Regions from separate parts of the Homo sapiens genome. Here regions 1, 2, 4, 5 and 6 are each linked to region 3. The links are contacts of gene promoters, found by promoter capture Hi-C in blood cells and fetal thymus (Javierre and others, 2016). All regions are on one chromosome and are shown on one strand. The core of a region is centred on a gene start or on the middle of the fragment in contact, and the rest is flanking DNA. Distances in the headings are between cores, read along the strand shown.

Region 1 (3,238 bases), core at 485-2,984, 200 kb before region 3:
GGGCAATTGGAGGAGCAAGAAGCATCATCAAGGTGAGAAGTGGGGGCTGTCTCTTGAGGAGAGGGGCTGGGGCAAGCCTGGGCTTGAGAGGCCCTAGTCTCCCATCTCTCTTGACCTCTAGACCCAGCTTCTTGTCCTTTTCCTCCCCCATGCTTTTGGTAAATTCTTGTGAGTTGGCATTAGGTGAGTGTTATCAACTGAATGTTTATGTCTTCCTCAAATTCATATATTGAAGCCCTGGGTCACAGTGTAGTTGCATTTGGAGATGGAGTCTCTGAGGAGGTAATTAATGTTAAATGAGGTCATAAGGGTTGGACCCTGATCCAATAGGATTACTGTCCTTGTAAGAAGAGACAACAGAGAGCTCTCTCTCTCTGTGTGCACACACCAAGGAAAGGCCATGTGAAGATGTAGTGAGAAGGAAGCCCTCTGTAAACCAGGAAGAGAGCCCTCACCAGAAACTAAGCCCTGTTGGACCTTGATCTGGGACTTTCCAGCCTCCAGAACTGTGAGAAGTAAATTTCTGTTGTTTAAGCCATGCCATTTTTTTATGGCAGCCTGAGCAGACTAATACAGTGACGCGTTCATTGTAAATAGTAAAATTCCTTTATTTCATTGACTACCAACAATCTGCTGCTCAAGACAGGCATAGAACCCATGACCCTCAAAATGCTCTGCGTCCAGCAGGGAGACAGATGAGTAAACAGAAATGAATGCTCTGCCGGACAGAGGAAGTACAGGATGGTCCCGGAGAAAAGAGAATGGGTTAGACACCCAGTGCATGTGACTCAAGATTTGCTAACTAGGGCTCCTAAGTATGTTTTCTTTGGCCCCAACAGTGTTTAAATAATTGGGAAACAGAACATAAAAATCTAGGTTTCTATTTTTGCTTGAAAAATCAGTTTCTGGTTGCACTGGGCCTGCATTGCCACATGGAAGCCACTGGATGGCGCAAAGGAGCAGCTGCCACCTTCAGAGACACTGTGAGCTCTCAGTTCAGCAGTGTTCCCACTGCTCCCTAATGTTTCCTTGCTCAGCCTGATGCCCTCACTTATGCCACCTGCCATTTGAGATTCCTGATGTAAACTGTTGCTTTTTTTTTAAGAGCTCGCATATGTGCCCAATTAATTGTAGATTTCCTTCTCTATGTTAGTCAGTGAACCAGGTTAACTCAAAGTACGTCCAAAGCTATGATGCCGACACTATGAAGGTCATTTGGCACCATGTTGTACCAGAGACTCTGGAAATTTCAGAGCTGGGAGGGACTTTGGGAATCACACAGTCTAAGCATCTCATTTCCCAATGTGGAAACAGAAACCCAGAGAGGTGAATTCCCCCGCCCCAGGCCACACATCTGGATAGTGGGTAGCAGAGCCAGGAGAAGAACTCTAGTTCTCTGAACCTTGTCTGCTGCTTTCTGCTCTGAAAAATTGCTTTTTTCCTCCTATTATCTTTGTAGAAAAAGAAAAGTAGCAGTTTGCCACGTAGATTTGGGAAAATGTTGTCATGTGATATTTAATCCATGTTCAGGCACTTTTCTTCACACTGTCAGAGGAATTATCAAAAGAAAATTATTGGAAAGTATTAGTCGTGTATTATGGTTTCCAAGCTCGCAAGCACAGATGTCCACTGGCAAAATTGAAATGAAATTGGAATAAATTAAAACCCATTTTGTTTTCCAGCCCCTGGTAATAAAAAATTCTTGCTGCAGATGAGTGATCGAGCCCAGTCTCCTCCCCCTTATTATTAAACAAAAGCAGAACACAATAAAAATAGAAATGAATGCAGAAATCTGCTCCGGTTTCCTCTTTTGTGTACCAATGTTTTTGTTGGTCAAATCACATTATGAAGCGTCCATTACAATGGCTTATCTTTAGAGGCCCCAAAGTAACTAGTGAGGATGTGAAAGATGGTCTGTTGTAAAGCAGGATTATGATAGCCCCATCTCTTTGGGTCGCTTCATCCCCAAATTTGTGGTGGGAAGATTAATTAAGCATGAAATCCACTAAGGAATCAACAAGATGAGAAGCTGTGTCATGTGGTGGGTAAAACTATGGGTTTGACGCCAGACTTTCTGGGTTCAAATCCCAGCTCTGTTATTGGCTGGAAGTCTGACTTTGGGCAAGGTACTTAACTTGTTGGTTCCTCATTGGTGAGGTAAAGATGATGATCCTGGTCCTTGCCTTCCAGAGTATTTTGAGGACTCAGAACACCAAGTCCCAGTGTCTGGCTTCATAACTGTTATCTGGACCTTTGTGGCAAGTGACAAAAACTCTCCCTTTGACCAGACTTTAGTGAGGCTCCTATGAGCCTCTTCTCAACTGGGCCTTGACCTTGGACTTCTTTGTCTGTGTCTGTCCTTGCCCAGTCAAGTTTTAGTAAGAATCCTGCCAAGTCAGTTTAGGGAGAATCCCCCATGCTTGATATCTGATCACATTAGTTTGTGTTTAGCAAGAATCCTGTTAAGTTGATTTCACAAGAATCTCCTATCCTTGATGTCTTCTCTTAGCAACTTTCCATATCCACTAACCCTCTCACTCTGTTCTTGGCTGACAATCCCACTTGTCCTTGAATTTGAAGTTGAACCTGATCTCTCACACCTATTGCAATACTCCATTGCAATAGTCCTGAATAAAGTCTTCCTTATTGTTTTAGCAAGTGTTAGAATATGATTTTCTTTAACACAGAGAAGAGGGTCTTGTTGAGACTGAGGACCCAGGTGAGTTTGGGGGAGTTACTGAGGACCTGGTGGGAATTTTGTTTTTAGTATGATGAGAGTGAGCAGAAAACAGGTGTGAGCAATTGGGGCTGACTGCTGGCTGTCCCTCACAGGATATCTGCAACCTGATTGGGGTCACTGTGGGCCCAGAGTCTCACCCCATTTTCACACATTCAGAGGTTTGATTCATCAGAGTACTCAGGAGTCAAGGAGGTGTTAGAGTGCAGTGTATGAATCTCACAAAAATCCCTGTTTCACATACACTTGAATTCTGAGTATTCTTCTTAGTAGCTATGGGAGCTTGGCCAGTTCATTTAATTTCTAACTCTCAATTTTTCTATCTCTAAATTAGAAATAACAAAATCTTCCTTTCAGGCGTTCTGATGATTTACCACAACATGGGTTGAAAGCCTCAAATAGCTAAGCAGCTAATAAATAGTCATTATTCATTGGGCTCTGGATAACCTCATCTAATCATTAAACTCACAAGCTAAACTATGATGTGAATTAGTTAATTCA
Region 2 (3,552 bases), core at 782-3,281, 170 kb before region 3:
TAGAAAGTCAAACCAAATACATATGGGAATTTAGTATACGATATAAACTACACCCTTAGGGAAAATGCGGACTATTCATTTAATGATATTGAGACAAGTGGATCATCTTATTAAAAAAAAGCTGGATCTCAGGTCTTACACCAAAATAAATTTTAGGTAGATTAAATATATAAACATGAAAAGGAAATCATACAAGTAGTATATAAAAATGGGAGATTTAACTAATAATATCAGAATGGGGAAGGCTCTTCTAAGAAACCACGCCCACACACAAATTAGTAAATTCGACAAAACAGAAACAACAAAAAATTTTGTGTTAAAAGTAACACTAAATCAAAATGAAAAGATAAAAGGCAAACACAAAATTGACAAGGATGCTTGCAACTTGTGTAACTGATAAAGGGCTATTTTCCTGAATATATTTCTCTATTCTATAATTACTTTCTTTAATATATTTTAAAAACTTCTGTAAGTAAGTATGAAATAGACAAATGATAAGAACAGTTATCAGAAAATGAAATACAAATGATTCAAACATGAAAAGATGCTCGAGCTCAGTCTATAATAATAGACCCTTAAAAGTATAATGAAATATCTTTTTTTAAACCCCTATCTGATTAGCAAAGACCAGCAAGTTGGAAAAACAGAGGGCTTTTTCAAAGATCAAGCTTGTGAGCCAAACTAAAGGATTCTGTGCTTTCAAGAATTACACTGTTTAGAGTTTGGACTTTTTGAAAAAAATGTACATGTCTATGAAATAAATTGGCCTTTTAAAAAAGAGTTTGCAGCAATGCTGAAAGTAGTGGCCAAAAGCATGATCAAGAGATAGGATATTCATCTAATCTCAAACCATCTCCCTACAAGCTATTTATCAATTACAAAGTGAAAAATACTAACTGCACAGTGGTGAATCCAGGTAGCCACCATCCTGTCAGGAAGCCCAAACCAGCCACCTGGGGAAGGACTGGGGTTCTCGGCCACACACAACACCCAGTGCTGTCATGTGGGTAAAGGAGTCTTCAGATGATTCCAGCGTTTAGCCTTTGAGTTTTTCAACTAAGGCCCCTGACATCATGGAGCGGAGACAAGCCATCCTTGATGTTCTCTATACAAATTCCTGATCTCTAGAATCCACAAGCATAATAAATGGCTGTTTAACGGTGCTGAGTTTGGGGGTAATTTGTTATGTAGACAAAGCAAATGGAACAGGGAGTGTCTGCCAAATTTCTCCACCATGTTACCATTTTCTCTTTTGTAAGTAATAAGTAATTTGAGGGGAGATGCATTGAGACTGTAAATATTCTGTTTCTCATCAACCTTTCACCCTTATCAAACTAGTTTTGGCAACCACTGATGATTTTCTAATTCTATCATCCCTTCTATATTTATTAGTTGGCTTTTTTTGTTTTTTTTTTTTTTTTTAGACAGAGTCTCATTCTCACTGTCGCCCAGGCTGGAGTGCAGTGGTGCAATCTCAGCTCACTGTAACCTCTGCCTCCCAGATTCAAGCGACTCTCCTGCCTCAGCTACCCGGTTAGCTGGGATTACAGACATGCGCCACCACGCATGGCTAATTTTTTTGTATTTTTAATGGGGACAGGGTTTCACCATGTTGGCCAGGGTGGTCTTGAACTCCTGACCTCAAGGGATCCGTGTGCCTCAGCCTCCCAAACTGCTGGGATTACAGGTGTGAGCCATGGCACCCCGCCTAGTTGGCATTTTTCTATCAGTGTGCTCTCAGGGATTCCTATTTTATTCAGTGAAATAGAATACATTATTATAATTGATGCTCAAATTGTCCCAGATGTAGAAGAGTCCCTTCAGTGGCCCATGGAAGTTCCTTCAAGCTAATCCTGGGTCCTATTGAATGTTCCCCATTTCTCACTGAGCATCTTCTTAGGTTCTTGTGAAATAAGATATCCTAAACTCATCTTGTGTTTCCACACCCCAGTCCTGGAATCCAAGACTTTTCTTCAAGGACTCTTCGTTCGTTTTAGTGGAGAATGGTATTTAGAAACCAAGATCTAAGTGCTAGATGTACTCACTGCTGCAGGTGTGTTATTGCTCCCAGACACTTTTGGTGGACAGAGCTAGGAAATATATTTATCTATTCATCTATGTATCAAAAAACACAAGTTCATACTGGTACCTCTAATTCCAATCCATAAACTCAGAGAACACTCTAATTTTCCCCTTTTTACATATTTGTAACTCTTTTTTCTGACAGTAAGAAACATGGCTCCTATTTTCCTCAATGTATTTATTCATTTGCTCAAGCATAAGATACACAGAAATTAATTTCAGAATTGCTAACCCACACTGCTGAGAAAAGCAAGCCTACTAGTAGAGTACAAAATTTATATATAGTAAAATACACAAATCTTAAATATATAATCTGGTATGTTAAAAAATTTTTAAGTTGACAAATAATAATTTCATTTATTTCTAGGGTACATAGGAATGTTTTGATACATGTAATGTATAGTGACCAAATCAGGGTATCAGTGTATCCATCATCTCAAACATTTACATTTCTTTGTGTTGGGACTATTCAATATCCTCCTTCTAGCTCTTTGAAACTAATAATATGTTATTGTTAGAGTCATCCTACAGTGGCATAGAACACTAGAACTTCTAAGGAACATATGCTCACTCCTGTTAAGGCATAAAACATTTCTACCATCCAGAAAGTTTCTTTCTCAGTCTATCCCCCCCAGAGCCAACCACTTTTCTGGTTTTGTTTCACTATAGATAGTTTTGTCTTGTGTAGAACTTCATATAAATAGACTCATATAATATGCACTTTTTCATAATTGGCTTCTTTTGCTCAGCATAATGTCTATGAGACTCATCTATTACATAGAAGCAGATTTTTCCCGTTTGTTGCTAAGTAGTATTCCATATTATAAATGTACCACAGTTTGTTTATCCTTTTCCCTGGATTTGAGTTGTCTCCAGTTTGACTGTTATAAATAAAGCTGCTATAAATATTCCTGTACAAGTCTTTTTGTGGATATACATTCTCATTTCTCTTGGGTAAAAACTTAGAATTTAAGTGCTGAGTCATTGGGTAGGTCCATGTTTAACTGTAGAAGAAACAAATCTTTCCAAAATTGTTTTACCATTTTACACTCCCACCAGCAATGGATGAACATTCTGGTTGTTTCACATCCTTACCAACATTTGGTGTTTTCAGTCCTTTTATTTTTAGCCATTCTAGTAGATTTAATTTTTATTTCTTTGATGACCAGTGACTTTGAGCATTGGTCCAAGTGAAGTTTTTTAAGCATGGGCATCTCCAAGGCGTGGGTTTGGTTCTACTCTGTTCTCTCTCTTCAGTTGGATTTGCTTCAGGGAGTGGGGGTAGTGCTATGGTTCTTAAGATTTTTAGAATGAAGCTTGAAGAAATGGATCAAAAAGTTCAAGAATGTTCTTTACATTCTTAATTCAGATTTACATAAGTTTTTGTTAATAAGACAAAAATTTTGTAATTAATCACGTGCATATAATTTACTTGGGTTTGTTCTGTTTTGTAAAGCTGATTTCAATTAT
Region 3 (3,329 bases), core at 474-2,973:
AGCCTCCTGTGTCAACAAAACAGGCCAGATTGATAGCTTTTTTTTTTTTTTAATAATAAGTAAAAAGTAGCAGCCCATTCTGTGAAGTATCAGGCAGGGCAGGCTATGCAGGCATATCTGCCTCTCAAGAAATCTCAAGAGGCTTAGGGATTCACACTGAAAGGCTCCATATAACCAACCTCAAAGCCATGGTATTCAGACGAGAACCCAAGTTTATCGTGCATTCAAAAGTTCTGTTCCTCAAAAAGCATCTACAAAGTGTGATTAGCTAATGAATCCATTAATCAAATATTCCTACTTGGCACAAGTCCCTGCTGTGAGAGGACAGTTAAGATAGGTCCCTGCCTTAAGAATATTGTAACCCAACTGAAGAAATAGGATGTGGAAGAACTAAGATGTCGATTAACAGCACAAGGCACAGAAGAACTAAAGTGTCAACTAACAGCACAAGGCACACACAGTGTAAGTCTCAGCCAGTTCATATGGCCCATATCCAACAATACCAACCCGTGTTGAACATTTATTATACAAGTGCTTTACAAGTATTTTCTTATTAAAGCTTCACAACCCTATGAAATAGATACAATTACAGTCTCTTTAAAGAACTTGAGTAGCATATCTAAAGTCATGCAGTTAAAAAACAGTTTCAAGGTCAGGTCTGATTCCAAAGCCCAGGTGCATAACCACAGAGCCCCTGCAGCTTGTAGAGCTCACAGTGCTTGGGACTGGCCTAGGAAGTCAAGGCTAGATGAGGAAGGGTACTCGGAGTTAGGCCTTAAAGTGGGCAACACTGAAATAGGCCAGTGATGGAGATAGGTCACTGTGTGGCACTGCGGTGGAAAGAGGGTTGGAGAGAGAAGATAGAGGAGAAGAGGAAAGAGGGCAGAGCATGGCAGCTGCTTGGGCACAGCCACTTTAGGGTGAGAGATGAGTGAAGATGTCTACCTTGTAGGCCATATCAACATGTCCCCCTTCTTCTGTGAAAAATGCCATCATCCCACACAGGAAGAGTTGGAGAGGGATCTGACAGTGGAGTCTGGTAGGAAAGGAGTCTGGCTTTTCATTTGCGCTTCCTTCTGCCCCTCTTGCCCCAGAGCAATATCCCAGGCTTTCCACCAACCCAGCCCACGGGGTGGCCATGCTACAAGCCTTTTGAGTCCTGCATCCCAAGAGGGGCAGCTTCTTGGCCTGAAGTTGTCTAATAGAGCCTGCCTGGCTCCAAGCAGGCCTCATCTCTGCTCTGTCTACTGGATCTGGGCTCTGAACTGGGGTGGGAGGTGGGGAAATGGGGAGGCTGGTTCAGGCTACCACTTCCTCTCCTCACCATTGGATAGCCAGCCTTTCAAGGAAAGTAGGGGGCCAGTTCTGTGGCATAGAACAGTATAGTTCTTAGGCCCTCCTATTTCAGAAAAACACTCAAGCAGTGTTTTCCCTCTGCTCTCACACCACGACAACAGTCATCAACACAGAAGACTTCTGCGACCAAATGTAGGGGATTTTCCCCCACACACCAAGCAGCGGGCACCAGCTGGGTGTCCTCCAACTCAGTTCCAACACTATCTACCTGGAAAGAGTGTCTGATCCCACAGGTTGAGGGCTCAGTCAGATTAAGAGATACATACGCGACGTCTGGAAGATCCCGAGCACAGGACCTTCCGTCCTGATAGGATAAGTTCTTCTTCACCTTCCTGTTTGCCTCCACGTGTTCAGCCCTCCAGAAACTCCCTGAACCCTGTCCTTTGGGCCTTTTATGGAGATTTCATTTGTTGTCCATGACTGAAGCATGTGATTGAACAAAATGTGATTGGACAAAAAGGGTATGATCTAATCTCAGCAAGGTCTGTCTGTCCAGATTCTTCTTCCTCTCTTTGTGCAGCATTCCTTCCTCCAGGGTATGGGGCATGACCTCCTCTGGAATGAGGGTCTTATGACCCACAATCAGATTATAGAGTCCCGCCTTGGGTGGATGAAAGGAGGGCAAAGAAGGCCAGAGAAATATTCTGTTTCCTGAGGCCTAAAGCACCTCTACATTATAGCAAAAGACCTCAGCAAGTGTCATGGGAGTTATGGACAAGAACCATGGACAAAAATCTATATACATGTAATCATAAGATCACACCCCCCACCACACACCACATTGTTCTACATAGAAGTGCCTTCACTATACAGCTTTTCATTTATTCATTCGTTCATTCACTCATTTATTCAACGGGTAATAGTGAATTCCAAATCAGGAACTGTGCTATGTGTTGGGGGTGACATGGCCCCTAGCCTCAGGAGGCTTCTATTCCATGGTTAATGGTGGGTATTGCTGAGAGATGATCAGTCAACAGTAACTGCAATGAATGTTAGGATAAAGAGAAGCCCAGAAGGCTCCACGGTGTTCCAGCTGCTCACAGGGTAATCTGCCTGTCTTTTTTACTTCCGTATCTCCAATGCCCATTATCATACCAGGCACAGGAAGTGCTCAGTTAAGTGTTTACTGAATTAAATGAAGATCTGAATGATGCTGAGTGTCAACCCTCCCTCTCAGTGGCTCCTCCCCATTGGCCCTAAACCTGATACCTGGATGAAAAGAGATAAGGATACATGACAGTTCTTCAAGTAGGTCACAGAACGTTTGAGTTGGGAGGAAATGGACAAAGCTTTTTACATCACTGCCATCCCCTCCCAGTCATCATATCCCCACAGTGGGGGTACTTTATGAAACACTTGGACCTTCATGCTTTCCTAATTTCTTCTTATCCTGTATGCTCTTCTAAGAATACTGAAGTTGGTCAATGTTCCTATTAAAACTCAGGAATCTAAACTTTGACTCAGAATTTCTGATTGAGATGTCACTTCAGTTTCCTTGTGCATTCTCAGAGGCTCTACCCTGGCTCACCCTGGAGAGTAGGGGGCAAGAAGTCTGATACTACTCAGCTTTCTCTCCTGTGCCAAAAAATCCTACCTGCAAGAATTGGTATGTGTATTAGTCCATTCTTGCCTTGCTATAAAGAAAAGCCCGAGACTGGGTAACTTACAAGAAAAGAAGTTTAATTGGCTCATGGTTCCACAGGCTGAACAGGAAGCATGGCAGCACCTGCATCTGGGGAGGCCTCAGGGAGCTTTTACTCATGGAGGAAGGCAAAGCAGGAGCAGGAACATCTCACATGGTGGGAGCAGGAGGAAGAGGGGCCAGGAGAGATGCTACACACTTTTAAACAACCAGATCTCATGATAACTCACTATCATGAGAACAGCACTGAGGGGATGGTGCTAAACCATTCATGAAGGACCACTCCCATGATCCAGTCACCTCCCACTGGGCTCCACCACCAATACTGGGA
Region 4 (3,535 bases), core at 599-3,098, 220 kb before region 3:
TGTTGGCCAGGCTGGTCTCGAAATCCTGATCTTGTGATCCACCCGCCTCGGCCTCCCAAAGTGCTGGGATTACAGGCGTGAGCCACTGCGCCCGGCCCCCATTTTCTTATACATCCCCCTGATGCAGAGCTCAGGCACACTACAGTTACCATGGGCACACATTGTGGTGAGTGTTTTGTGAGTTTTGTGGAGATCCCTGAAGATTTCAGGGATATCTCAAGAGAGTTCATTCTGTTGCCAGGCTCATCCTTTTGTCCTTTGACTTCTCACACCCAGATTCTCTTGGGGCTCCACATTTCTCTCTCTGCACTTGGACTACCTAACTTCACCTGGCCCGAGTGAATCCCTCTTCCCCGCCAAGAAACACACTCCCTCGCCAACATCCACTCACTGCCTAAGCCTGGGACCGGTCATCCTTCTTTCCTTCTCTCTCTCTCTGTGTCTCATGTCCAAATACCAAGTCATATCTACCCTAAATACCTCTATTTCTTCAAGCTGGATACCGAATTTCAACATGGGAGTGCTCAAAGAATATCTGCTGCTGGGAGGGTTACAGGGCTGGGGGCTCATTTCCTAGCCGTAGGAGCATAGCTAAACACTGCTTTGAATTTAACTTTCTGTTTATTGAGGTGACTTTCGGAGGTGCTTTGATCGAGATTATGGGAAGTGGTTAAAGACCCCTAACCTCTCTGCCATCACTGTTCCTTCTCTCAGTCCCTGCCACCACCATACCCCTGAGGGAGGCAGGGCAACTACACAGCCTCCCACACAGAGTCCCTGCCTTCCTGCTTCTTCTGACCCATTCTCCACACAGCCCCCAGGACTGGCTTTCTGCAAGTTGAATCCAATCCTGCTGTTTCTCAGCTTCAGTGGTCCTTGTGGCCCTTCAGCTAAAAACCCAAATCCATTACACGACCTGCAGGGCCCACCAGTCTGGGCCCACCTCTCCAGCATCAGTCCAGCCTCCCTCAGATCAGCCACGCCAACCTGTTTTCAGTGCCATGGGTGCCCCTGTGGTGTTTGCACAAACTGTTACCTCTGCCTGTAACACTCTACATGCCCTGCTACCTGGTGAAACCCTTTGGATCTCTGCTTACCCGCCCAGCTAGACATCACTCCCTCTGGGATATATTCCTGATGCCCTAGGCTACCGCATAGGGTGCTGGCATGGAAAATTTTTGCTGAAGTTAATAATAATAATAGTCCCTAAGTCGAGGGCTTCCCTCGCTGACTGTATTGCCAGCCCTGCTTTCCAGACAAGCCATTTTGCCCAAAGTTCTATCCCAAGTCTCTGACACAAGCCTGGCAGATCATAGGTGCCCAGTAATTATGTGCTGAATAAATGAGTGAATGAATGAATGAACAGGGTGCCAAAGGGATGTTTCCATGTGAAAACAGATCTCACGATGTTTCATCTGGAAAAGAGACAACATGCAGGGGCAGGGAGGCTGTGCATGATCACTACCTGAGGTTGCTATGAGAGATGCTGGAGGATTAGAAATGAGGTGCACAAAGCCTGGGACCCAGTAAGCTTTCATGGAAGAACACTTCCCCACCCCCGTACCCATCTCCTCATTCCTTCTCCCACTACCCTCCCTGAGTGCATTGAATGAGGGGCAGGAAACACAGAGGTCAGAGAAGCAGGTTTCTGGCCCTGAAAGAAGTTTTGAACAGACCGTTCTGGAAATGAAACTGGATCCTTGTGATGGTGACATCCCTGCCCTGCATCATATGATGTTGAAACAGGGGTGCCATGTGCCAGAAGAGGTGGGCAAGGGAAAAGACCAGATGGCCCTTAGGTTTCCTTCTCTCTCCAAGAAGATGATTCAATTATGTCATCTTTTCATAAAAATCTTCTTTTGTTGCCTTGATTTAAAATAGGTGTAGGGATGCTGCAAATTTAAATGTGAGAGAAATCTCAGGAAAATTATGTTACTAGGAAACCAAAAAGGTTTGGCATTCTTTCAAGAGGAATTTCTATTCTGTCACCATGTATTGTTCCTGAGGTCCTGCCAAACCGAATTCTTTATATGCGGCAAAGTCTTCTTTGGGCTGGATTCCCTCCAAAAATGGCCAAGGCTCACATCTCTGAGCGCCAAAAGCTACTTGTTGGTTATGGCCTTTCTTGCCCTTTTAGGAATTAAAGCCTAAGGCAGGGTTTTAAAGTAAGCTTCTTATTCCAAGCAAGAGTGTGGATTTATTCTGGACATTTGGGCTCTGTCAATAAAACATATAAAATTTCTCCACATTGGCACTATGGCATTTTGGGGCAGGTGGTTCTTTGTTGTTGGGAGCTGCCCTTTGCATTGTATGATGCTGTGGCAGCATGTTTGGCCTCTACCAACTAGATACCAGTAGTACCTCCCCACTTGTGACAACCCAAAATGTCTCCATATATTGCCAAATGTCTCCTGGGGAAGCAAAATCAACCCTGATTGGGAGCCACTGATCTAAATAAAAAGAATGGAAGTAAGTTGTGTAGATGTTCAGTTAGTCTAGGTAACTAACCAAATCGCACCTGGAACCCAGCTTTTCTGACCTCATAACTTGGGCCTAGGAGGTAGGACCTTGATGTGATTAAGATCAAGGACCCAAAGTCAAATGACCTGCATGCATATCCTGGGCTTACTATCTCAAATTCTCAATCTTTGTGAGCTTTAGCTTCTTCATCTGTGAGATGGGCCGATAATTGTACTTATCCTACTGGGTGGTCAAGAGAATTAAATGAGATACTGTTTGCAAAGACTTATCATACCACCTTAGTAAGGCTACAAGTCTTGTGACCTATTATTGTTTGTGACAAAAACTCTGTAGGCCAAAAAAGATAATCTATTCTTTGACAAATAACTTAAATACCTGCATGCATTCCATATTGGACAGCATAGGCTAACTGCTATAACAAACAACCCTGATGTTTAAGCGGCTGAACACAATAAAAGTTTATTTTTCACCCACCCACTAGTCCATCACAGGTGTTTCTCATAGGGCTGCTCTCTGGGAGGCTCAGTCCCAAAAAGTGAGTCAGGAGTCCAGGCTCTTTCCATCTTGTGGCCCTGTCTCCTTTAGGATCTTTCCTAAAGCATGAATGTTCTGTGCAAATTGAAAGAATTCTGAAGTCAAATAAATTTGAGAAATAATACGCTAATGAACTCTTTCTTGGAAATTCAAAGTGCCATTAGCATATGAAGGACTCTGATAAGTTCTGCAGTAAAGAAACCTGTTGGGCTTTGTTTAACCCAGTGTTTATTAAAAAGTTAAACTTCTGGGCCAAATGCAGTGGCTCACACCTGTAATCTCAGCACTTTGGGAGGTCGAGGCGGGTGGATAATTTGAGGTCAGGAGTTCAAGACTAATTTGCCCAACATTGTGAGACCCTGTCTCTACTAAGAATACAAAAATTAGCTGGACATGGTGGCGTGCACCTGTAATCCCAGCTACTCGGGAGGTTGAGATAGGACAATCGCTTGAACCTGGGAGGTGGAGGTTGCGGTAAACCGAGATCGCGCCACCGCTCCCTCCAGCCTGGGCAACAGAG
Region 5 (3,363 bases), core at 110-2,609, 240 kb before region 3:
ATGGAAGCTTTTTTGGTTTTGCTTTTGTTTTAATGGACAGGTAGCCTGGGTTGCAGTGTGAGGGAGACAGACCACAGAGACATGTATGAATAACAGCAAAAAGGAAACAGAGAAGCTACTGGAATTTGATCAACAGTAAACAATGTACTGAGAACACACATTTACAACACATGTATGCTCATCAGTCGTCAGGTCTTCATTAAGTATCTAGCACATTTTGACCCAGAGATAAATGCTTTGGGCATGGGGGGGAGAGAAAGAACTGGTCAAGGTATCCTGAAAAGTCTTTGAGTGAAGTTCTTAGATAATGCCTATTCATTTACCTGCTCCTATATTCATTCATAGTATATTTCTGCTAAACGAGGCAGACATAGAATGAAAAATTGAATTGAATGTGGAATTAGACAATGGGGAAGAGAGATCCAAACTAAACAAGGTCTCGATTCCAATTTCCTATGATGTACAATCTGTTGTCATGGGACAGCAAGACAAAGGGAAATGACTACTGGCATGCGTGTGAGTTTAATGAGGAACATTAGTGGAACATACCTTATCTCTCCTCCCAGTATGGAAAAATCTGTGTAAGAGAAGGAAGTCCTTAAAATAGTATCCTATGACCATCAACCCCACTAAAACAGTGAAATCTGAGGTGGTGAATCTCCTTTTACAAACCAGTTCTGATATATTTCTTGTGGGGGGGGAAAAACTCTTAAGAAAGAGAAAAAGGGAAAGGGTTTCTGTAGTTCCTCTGTATATTTTTAGAAAAATGGCATCACTTTGCAGACTTGAATCTAGAGTCTGAGGGTTATAAGCCACCTTCCTCAGTGTTTCCACTACATCTTTTCAGCCTGGCAGCTCTTCAGATATACGAGTTTCTACCACTCATTGGTCATTTCTTAACTAGAGTGAACAAAATTGTTGGCTTTTTAAGGAAATTGCCTGTCTGGTGGGTAAAGCGTATCTATTTGTAAGGTGTCAAGAAACAGATAATAAAATAGATCCATTTCTGCTAACACAATAATACTCCTTTAATCTGAGCCAGTGCTATGACTCATCTGCCTGTCTCCTCTTGTGGGATGGAAAGGGAGCTGTCTGCAAACCTTCAGCAGTGGGAGGAGGGAAGGAGATACTTTTCACACGCTAGGACTGCTGCTCTGCTTTGAAAACCCACCAGCTCTAGAACCGCTGTTTTCTGTAGGCTGAAGTGGCCTTTGGTCCTTAGAGGTGAAAGGTTGGCCCTATTTTTAATCATTTGTCTCAAGGTAGACTTTGGTCCCAAGGAAGCTTCTACCCAGAGCTGAGGGGGCCTCCATGGGACTGTAGGTAAGCTGGAGAGCAGGGTCCAAGCTAGCTTGATATCCATCTAACAGAACATGGTGCTAGAAGACAGCCTTGAGAAAGGGAGCTTTCCTATTTCTTTCTTGCCAGTAAAAATAAGCTTTTATTTGTCTCCCCTCTTATTTAAAAAGTAATGCAGATTACTAGAAAAATTGGAAAATACATATAAACAAAAAAGAATATAAATTAATTCGTAATTTTACTAATTGCAGTCACGGTTAACATATCTTTTGAGAAGTTTCCTTCTGTGTGTGTACAGTATTCTGCTTTTGTAAATTGCTTTTTCCTTTTAACAATATGTTGTGAACATCATTTCATCTACTCTTTGATAACATGATTTTTAATAGCTGTACAATATTCTACTGGATGAGTATACCATATGTATTTAAACAATCCTCTATTGTTGAGCAGTTAGGTTGTTTCCAATTTTCTGCTATAATAGCATCAATCAATATCCTCGTGTCTAAATCTTTGCACACATCATTAATCAATGCCTGTGAACTTTCAGCCTCCTTCGTTTTCCTTGGGAGAGAGAAACAAGAAAGAAAATTGCAACTAACAAAATAATTGCTGTATATATCCCAAGACTTTAAGGTTATCAAGAATTTTCATGGGTATAATCTCCACTAGGCAGCAGGTGGGTTATTTGAGTTCATTCTTGCATTTGTCCAGCATCAGTTGAGCCCAGAGGAGGTTTAGGAGAAGAATGCAAAGTTTCCTTCCACACTTTCTTTGTGGGCAGTGTGTCCTCTGCACAGCCCCATCCAAGTCCAGACCCCTTGTAGGAGGCAGAGGGTGGATGAGGCTGGCAACTTTGGCATCCAGCTGTTCTCCTGGGTTCTTAGCTTCTGCTTCCTGAGCTGCCAGCAGGATAGCTTTCTTGGTGGTTAATGCAATTATAGTGACTCAAAAGCACTGATACAAAGGGAGAGGGAAATTGAGAAGGAGAAAGGGAGAAGAGAAAGAGAGAGAGAGAAGAAAACTCTATGGGCCCAACCTCTGTTGTGCCCTAGCCCAACCCTATGGGGTTATTTATAAGCCCTTTAAATAGCAGCACCAGGATCTTAGGTTCACTGAGAGCCTCCCTGATCACACATGGTGTGTGATCTCACTTGTGGCATTCATTTTGGCTATGGGATGTGACTCCACTGCTGCATGAGAGCTGTTCTTACAAGCATCTACACAGCTTGTATGTGGGTACCCTAAGTGACTGTTGAGCTCTGCCCAGTGCCTTCCCATATTCCTGGATCCTTACACAGCTTTGTGGCATAGAAAAGGTCAGTATTATTCCCACAGGAGAGAAGACGGAATCAAGACCCATGAGGTTTCAGCGGCAACTAGAGTCTTTGTGGTTTTCAGGATGATAGGAAAGTACCCAAAGACTGGGTGGGGCAATGTTACCCCAGTTCTCAAAGGGAAGAAAGGAGTTGATTCCGGAAATAACCAATTGATGAGTTTTTTGTTGCTGTCTAGCAAAAATCTGAAACAAACAGGTTTATAAATGGTTAAAGAAGAGAATGGTGATCACCAGCAGCCAACATGGGTTCCTTACCATGTCCTGCTAAAATAACCATGTTAACTTTCTTTAAACAGAGTCATGAAGTATATAAATCAAGATAATTTTATTTGACTTGGGATGTATCAAGTATTTGTTGAGTATCCTCTGTGTTTCAGGTGCAAAATGAAGGGAAGTGACTGTCACAGATACCATATGTTGTGATTTAAGTTTTGAGGAGGTCTTACACAGTTTCCTTGCTGCTAGGTGGATCTGGAGTAGGTTGAACAATCCTACCCAGTGAGCTTTGATTCATGGCTTTGAGTTACCTAGGAAGGAGGTATCCAGTGGAGTGACACAGAGCTCTGCCCTTGGCTCTAGTTTATTCTACTTATTTTTTTTTTTTAAAGACAACAACAAGAGTAGTGATTTAGAGAAAGAATTTGATGCTTGTGCTTATCAATGGTATAGATTACCATACTAACACAGGTAAGAGAAGACAAAATCATATGGGAAAGACATGTGGGTCT
Region 6 (3,598 bases), core at 561-3,060, 130 kb before region 3:
GCCAAAGATGGCCTACAGCCACCAGAAGCTCAAAGAGGCAAGGAAGGATTCTCCCACCAAATTCCTCTCCAAGGGAGCGTGGCCATGCCGACACCTTGATTTCAGGCTTCTGGCTTTCAGAATTATAAGAGAATACATTTCTGCTGTTTGAAGCCACCCAGTTTGTGGTAATTTGTTGCAGCAGTTTTAGGAAACAAATATAAGGAGGAAGGACTATATCTCATCCACACAAGACTTTGTCGTGATAAAAGGAGGGTGGCTGCCTCCGCTTCACCAGCTCAGAATAAAAGGGTGACCTCAGCCTGAGCAATTCAGGATGGTGAGTGCAGATGGTAAGAGAAAGGGGAAGTGGATAACAGGAGGCTCAGGAGGGAATGAGGGAAATATGCAAGATGGATCCGCAGAGGTAGAAGAAAGAGAAGGACAAAAAGCAAACACACCCCAGGTTTGCTGGGGTGGCATTCAACAACAGGGGCAAGATGGCAAGCTTGGGGCTGGGAGACAGGCTGGGGTTTCCCCAGAGCACAGTCCTCAGAGCTGGTCCTGAGACAGGCTGAGGGGAACTGCAGAAGGAAAGAACTACTAAGAGGATTCATTATGCAAGGAGCCGCAAAAGACCTGCGAGAAGTAGAAATACAGGCTGTTGAGAGAGGTTAGAATGAGACTCAAGAAGGAGAACCAGGAACAATTGCATTAAAATAGGATGAAATGTGCTTTTTTGATTCATTTGGAAATGAGTTAGTCTTGTAAATAGGCATAGTGTTACTTATCCTGGCAACCAATGGGCATCAAATGTGATTATTAAACACAAAATACCATATATTTGTGATCCTTATGAGTATCAGCTGATTATTAAGCTAAGAGAGATTCTTCTGAAAGATGTCTCCTTTGAGACTATGTGTTCCCGAAAGCCAGCTTTTTGGCTTAACTTAGAAAATGTGTAAATCCTCACCAGTTGGTTGTAGAGAAGGGCACAAACCCATGGACTTGTGGAATCTTCAGTTGCAGGAGTCCTAAAGTTCATCTCCTCCAATTTCGCAATGAGCAGGAATATCTACCCCCAACTGCTAGTACCCCTGACCAAGATATATCTGGCTTCCCCCACCTGGCCATGTTTTTCTTGCTTAAGCGTGTAGATTGATCATTCACTGTCTTTCAGTGGCACTTAGTAGACTGCAAAGGCCGCATTTTAGAATGTGTACATGTGGTGCCTATTCTTAGGAATTTAATAGTACTAACTTCTCTTACTGGTTTAAAGATTCACTCTCTCATTCAACAGAAATGTACTGAGAGCATGCTGTGTGCCAGACATGGAGATGAGTAAAACGTGGATGACTAGAGAACACATATGGATCATTTTACTTTGGTTGCTTAATATAGCTGAATCAATAGAATTGGTTTGACTCACCCCTAGCTGTTGGTTGGAAAGACAGGGCAAAGTCTCAAGTCACTGTTCTTGGACTTATTCCCATGGTGGAGTGGCTGGTGTGAGTTATGATAGGAGCCAGAATTCCCTAGTTTCCTCAATACCTCAATTCCTCCAATATTAATACCTAAATTGTTGACCAATTAAACCCTACACACATTTATTGTTATACTATATTTGATTTCCAAAAGGACCAAAGCACACTTTTAGTGTAGCATACAGGAAAGATTATCATAGACTTTGGAATAAGCCAAGAAGTTAAAATTCCTAGCTGAGTGAGTGTAGGCAAGTTACTCTGGGAATCAGTTTTATCAGCTGCAAAATGGGAAATAATCCATACTTTGCATAATTGTTGTGAGGTTTAAATAAGATAACATGGTCTATGGTCTGACTGATTTATAATAATTCTTTCCCCTTCACACTTGCCCCAGGATCACACGCAAAGATGTGTCAACCATTCCTGCATCATCATGGGCAGGTATTTCTCTGAAGCAAGAGTTCATTTCTCCTTGCCTGTTTTTTGGTTGTTTTTGGAGCCACATGAGTAGTAAAAGCAGCTGCTGCATTATGAGAAGGTGTAAGCATGCCAGAGGCATTGGTGCCCAGAGAAAGTGGTCATTTCAGCAGGGAAGGGAGGTATTATTGAGCTCTTAGTGCTTCAGTTGGTTTGAGTATAAAACCAATGCCACTTAGAAAAAAATTATTTGCTTCAGCAAACCCGTTGGCTTGCTCAAAAGTTGCAATAGGAATAAAGTAATTATTTGTGAATGAAATGTGTTCCATCAACATCTCCATCCCCCTGCAGCAGCAAGTTAGGGATACATGCAGGCATACTAGTGTTTGGGGGCTTGCAGTCAGCCAGTTGGTGCACACTGGATGCCCAAATCATCCTTTCAATGGCCAAATTGCATGCTTGACCTGAGAGTGCCGTATACACTCAATTTGCTATTAGGGCTTAGATACAAAGTGGAAAAGATGCTATTATGTTTATGAAGCAAAATAGTAACTTAACATAATGAAGGCATTGGAAATGACTGTAGAGCTCCTCTGGTGTAATCCATATTTACAGAGATAGCTAGTGATATTCAAATTGGTGAAAGGGCATTGAAATCATCATGAGAATGTGCACAGCTATGAAGGGAAGTCAGCCAGGTGAAATCAAACAGCCCTGGACTTGGAGCTGGGATCCCCAGAGGAGTCCTGGATCTGTCGCTTAGTGAGTGGCTTTGGACAAACCACCTGGGCTCTCTGGGCTTTAGTTTTCACTTCAGTGAAATGGGACTTCTCTGCCTTTCTCACTAGGTGAAGACAGGGTGCAAGCAAAATGTTGGATATGAACAGGAATGATGTTAAAGACCTTAAACCATGGGCCCAATCCAGCTCACAGATGAGTTTGGTTTGGCTGGCACTGTGTTTGGTTTGGCTGGGACTGGCATTCAGGAACACGGAACCTGAATGCCTTTAGGTGAGGCATGTTCCTTGTCTCCCACAGGCTCTACTTATAGCTGGTCTGATTGTCCAATTTATGTTGCCTGCCTGGCTCCTATAGGCATTCTGATTTGGGAACCCTTGCAACCTAAACACCACATTATAGTGGACCAGCTTCATGTGTGGGTGAAGTAGGTAGTATCATTTTAGGGCTATCTGGAAAGTACCATCTCCTTTCCCTCCTCCTCTCCTCCCACAAGCCCAGCTTGCAGATGCCTATCAAGCTTTTGTGCAATTCCCTAGAAAACCAAAAGCTTCTACTGTAAGGGAGGATGACATTTTGAAACTTAGCTATGCTTTATAACTTAGGTAGACACATTTAGCAATTTATTTATTTATTTATTTATTTATTTATTTTTATTTTTATTTTTTGAGATAGGGTCTCGCTTTGTCACCCAGGCTGGAGTGCAGTGGTACTATCACAGCTCACTTTGATCTCGAACTTCTGAGCTCAACCAATCCTCCCACCTCAGCCTCTCAAGGAGTTTTTAAAAAATGTTTTGGGAGTAGTTTTTGATCATAGAACCTGAGACACTGGCCATATGTGTTAGGGTATATGTGGATAGGGAAGGGAAACTCTACCAAGCAGGTAGCAAAGGAATAAAAATGGATGGATTGGGGGGAATAATAACCACCTCACAGTATTGTTGAGAGAAGTAAATGACATGACTGTTAAAAGGGCTT

Evidence for each region. The method cuts DNA at HindIII sites, captures the fragments that hold promoters and counts their contacts. A CHiCAGO score of 5 or more calls a contact.
Region 1: a fragment that was not itself captured here is called in contact with the fragment with the promoter of CYP19A1 in region 3 in 1 of 17 cell types (M1 macrophages); the score reaches 6.6 in M1 macrophages.
Region 2: a fragment that was not itself captured here is called in contact with the fragment with the promoter of CYP19A1 in region 3 in 6 of 17 cell types (M1 macrophages, M0 macrophages, megakaryocytes and 3 more); the score reaches 6.8 in M1 macrophages.
Region 4: a fragment that was not itself captured here is called in contact with the fragment with the promoter of CYP19A1 in region 3 in 1 of 17 cell types (M1 macrophages); the score reaches 5.5 in M1 macrophages.
Region 5: a fragment that was not itself captured here is called in contact with the fragment with the promoter of CYP19A1 in region 3 in 1 of 17 cell types (M1 macrophages); the score reaches 7.7 in M1 macrophages.
Region 6: a fragment that was not itself captured here is called in contact with the fragment with the promoter of CYP19A1 in region 3 in 1 of 17 cell types (M1 macrophages); the score reaches 6.1 in M1 macrophages.

The regions. Positions count from the first base shown.
Region 1 is chr15:51,132,135-51,135,372 of GRCh38, forward strand. All of the region lies in intron 1 of MIR4713HG (MIR4713 host gene), which reads left to right. Among named protein-coding and RNA genes, the nearest start is that of TNFAIP8L3, 39 kb to the left of the region's middle. The HindIII fragment of the contact is 4,498 bases long and covers 1-3,238 here.
Region 2 is chr15:51,165,819-51,169,370 of GRCh38, forward strand. The region is part of intron 1 of MIR4713HG (MIR4713 host gene); the gene reads left to right. Among named protein-coding and RNA genes, the nearest start is that of TNFAIP8L3, 73 kb to the left of the region's middle. The HindIII fragment of the contact is 2,730 bases long and covers 667-3,396 here.
Region 3 is chr15:51,336,873-51,340,201 of GRCh38, forward strand. CYP19A1 (cytochrome P450 family 19 subfamily A member 1) reads right to left here and starts at 1,724. Exons shown (of 10, transcript NM_000103.4): 1 at 1,623-1,724. RefSeq lists promoters at 1,649-2,226, 1,649-1,967, an enhancer at 1,888-1,967 and cis regulatory regions at 1,919-1,936, 2,001-2,030. The HindIII fragment of the contact is 2,086 bases long and covers 558-2,643 here.
Region 4 is chr15:51,112,906-51,116,440 of GRCh38, forward strand. All of the region lies in intron 1 of MIR4713HG (MIR4713 host gene), which reads left to right. Among named protein-coding and RNA genes, the nearest start is that of TNFAIP8L3, 20 kb to the left of the region's middle. The HindIII fragment of the contact is 639 bases long and covers 1,530-2,168 here.
Region 5 is chr15:51,097,162-51,100,524 of GRCh38, forward strand. All of the region lies in intron 1 of MIR4713HG (MIR4713 host gene), which reads left to right. It also overlaps a transcript of TNFAIP8L3 not described here. Among named protein-coding and RNA genes, the nearest start is that of TNFAIP8L3, 3.9 kb to the left of the region's middle. The HindIII fragment of the contact is 154 bases long and covers 1,283-1,436 here.
Region 6 is chr15:51,202,665-51,206,262 of GRCh38, forward strand. All of the region lies in intron 1 of MIR4713HG (MIR4713 host gene), which reads left to right. Among named protein-coding and RNA genes, the nearest start is that of MIR4713, 38 kb to the right of the region's middle. The HindIII fragment of the contact is 2,651 bases long and covers 486-3,136 here.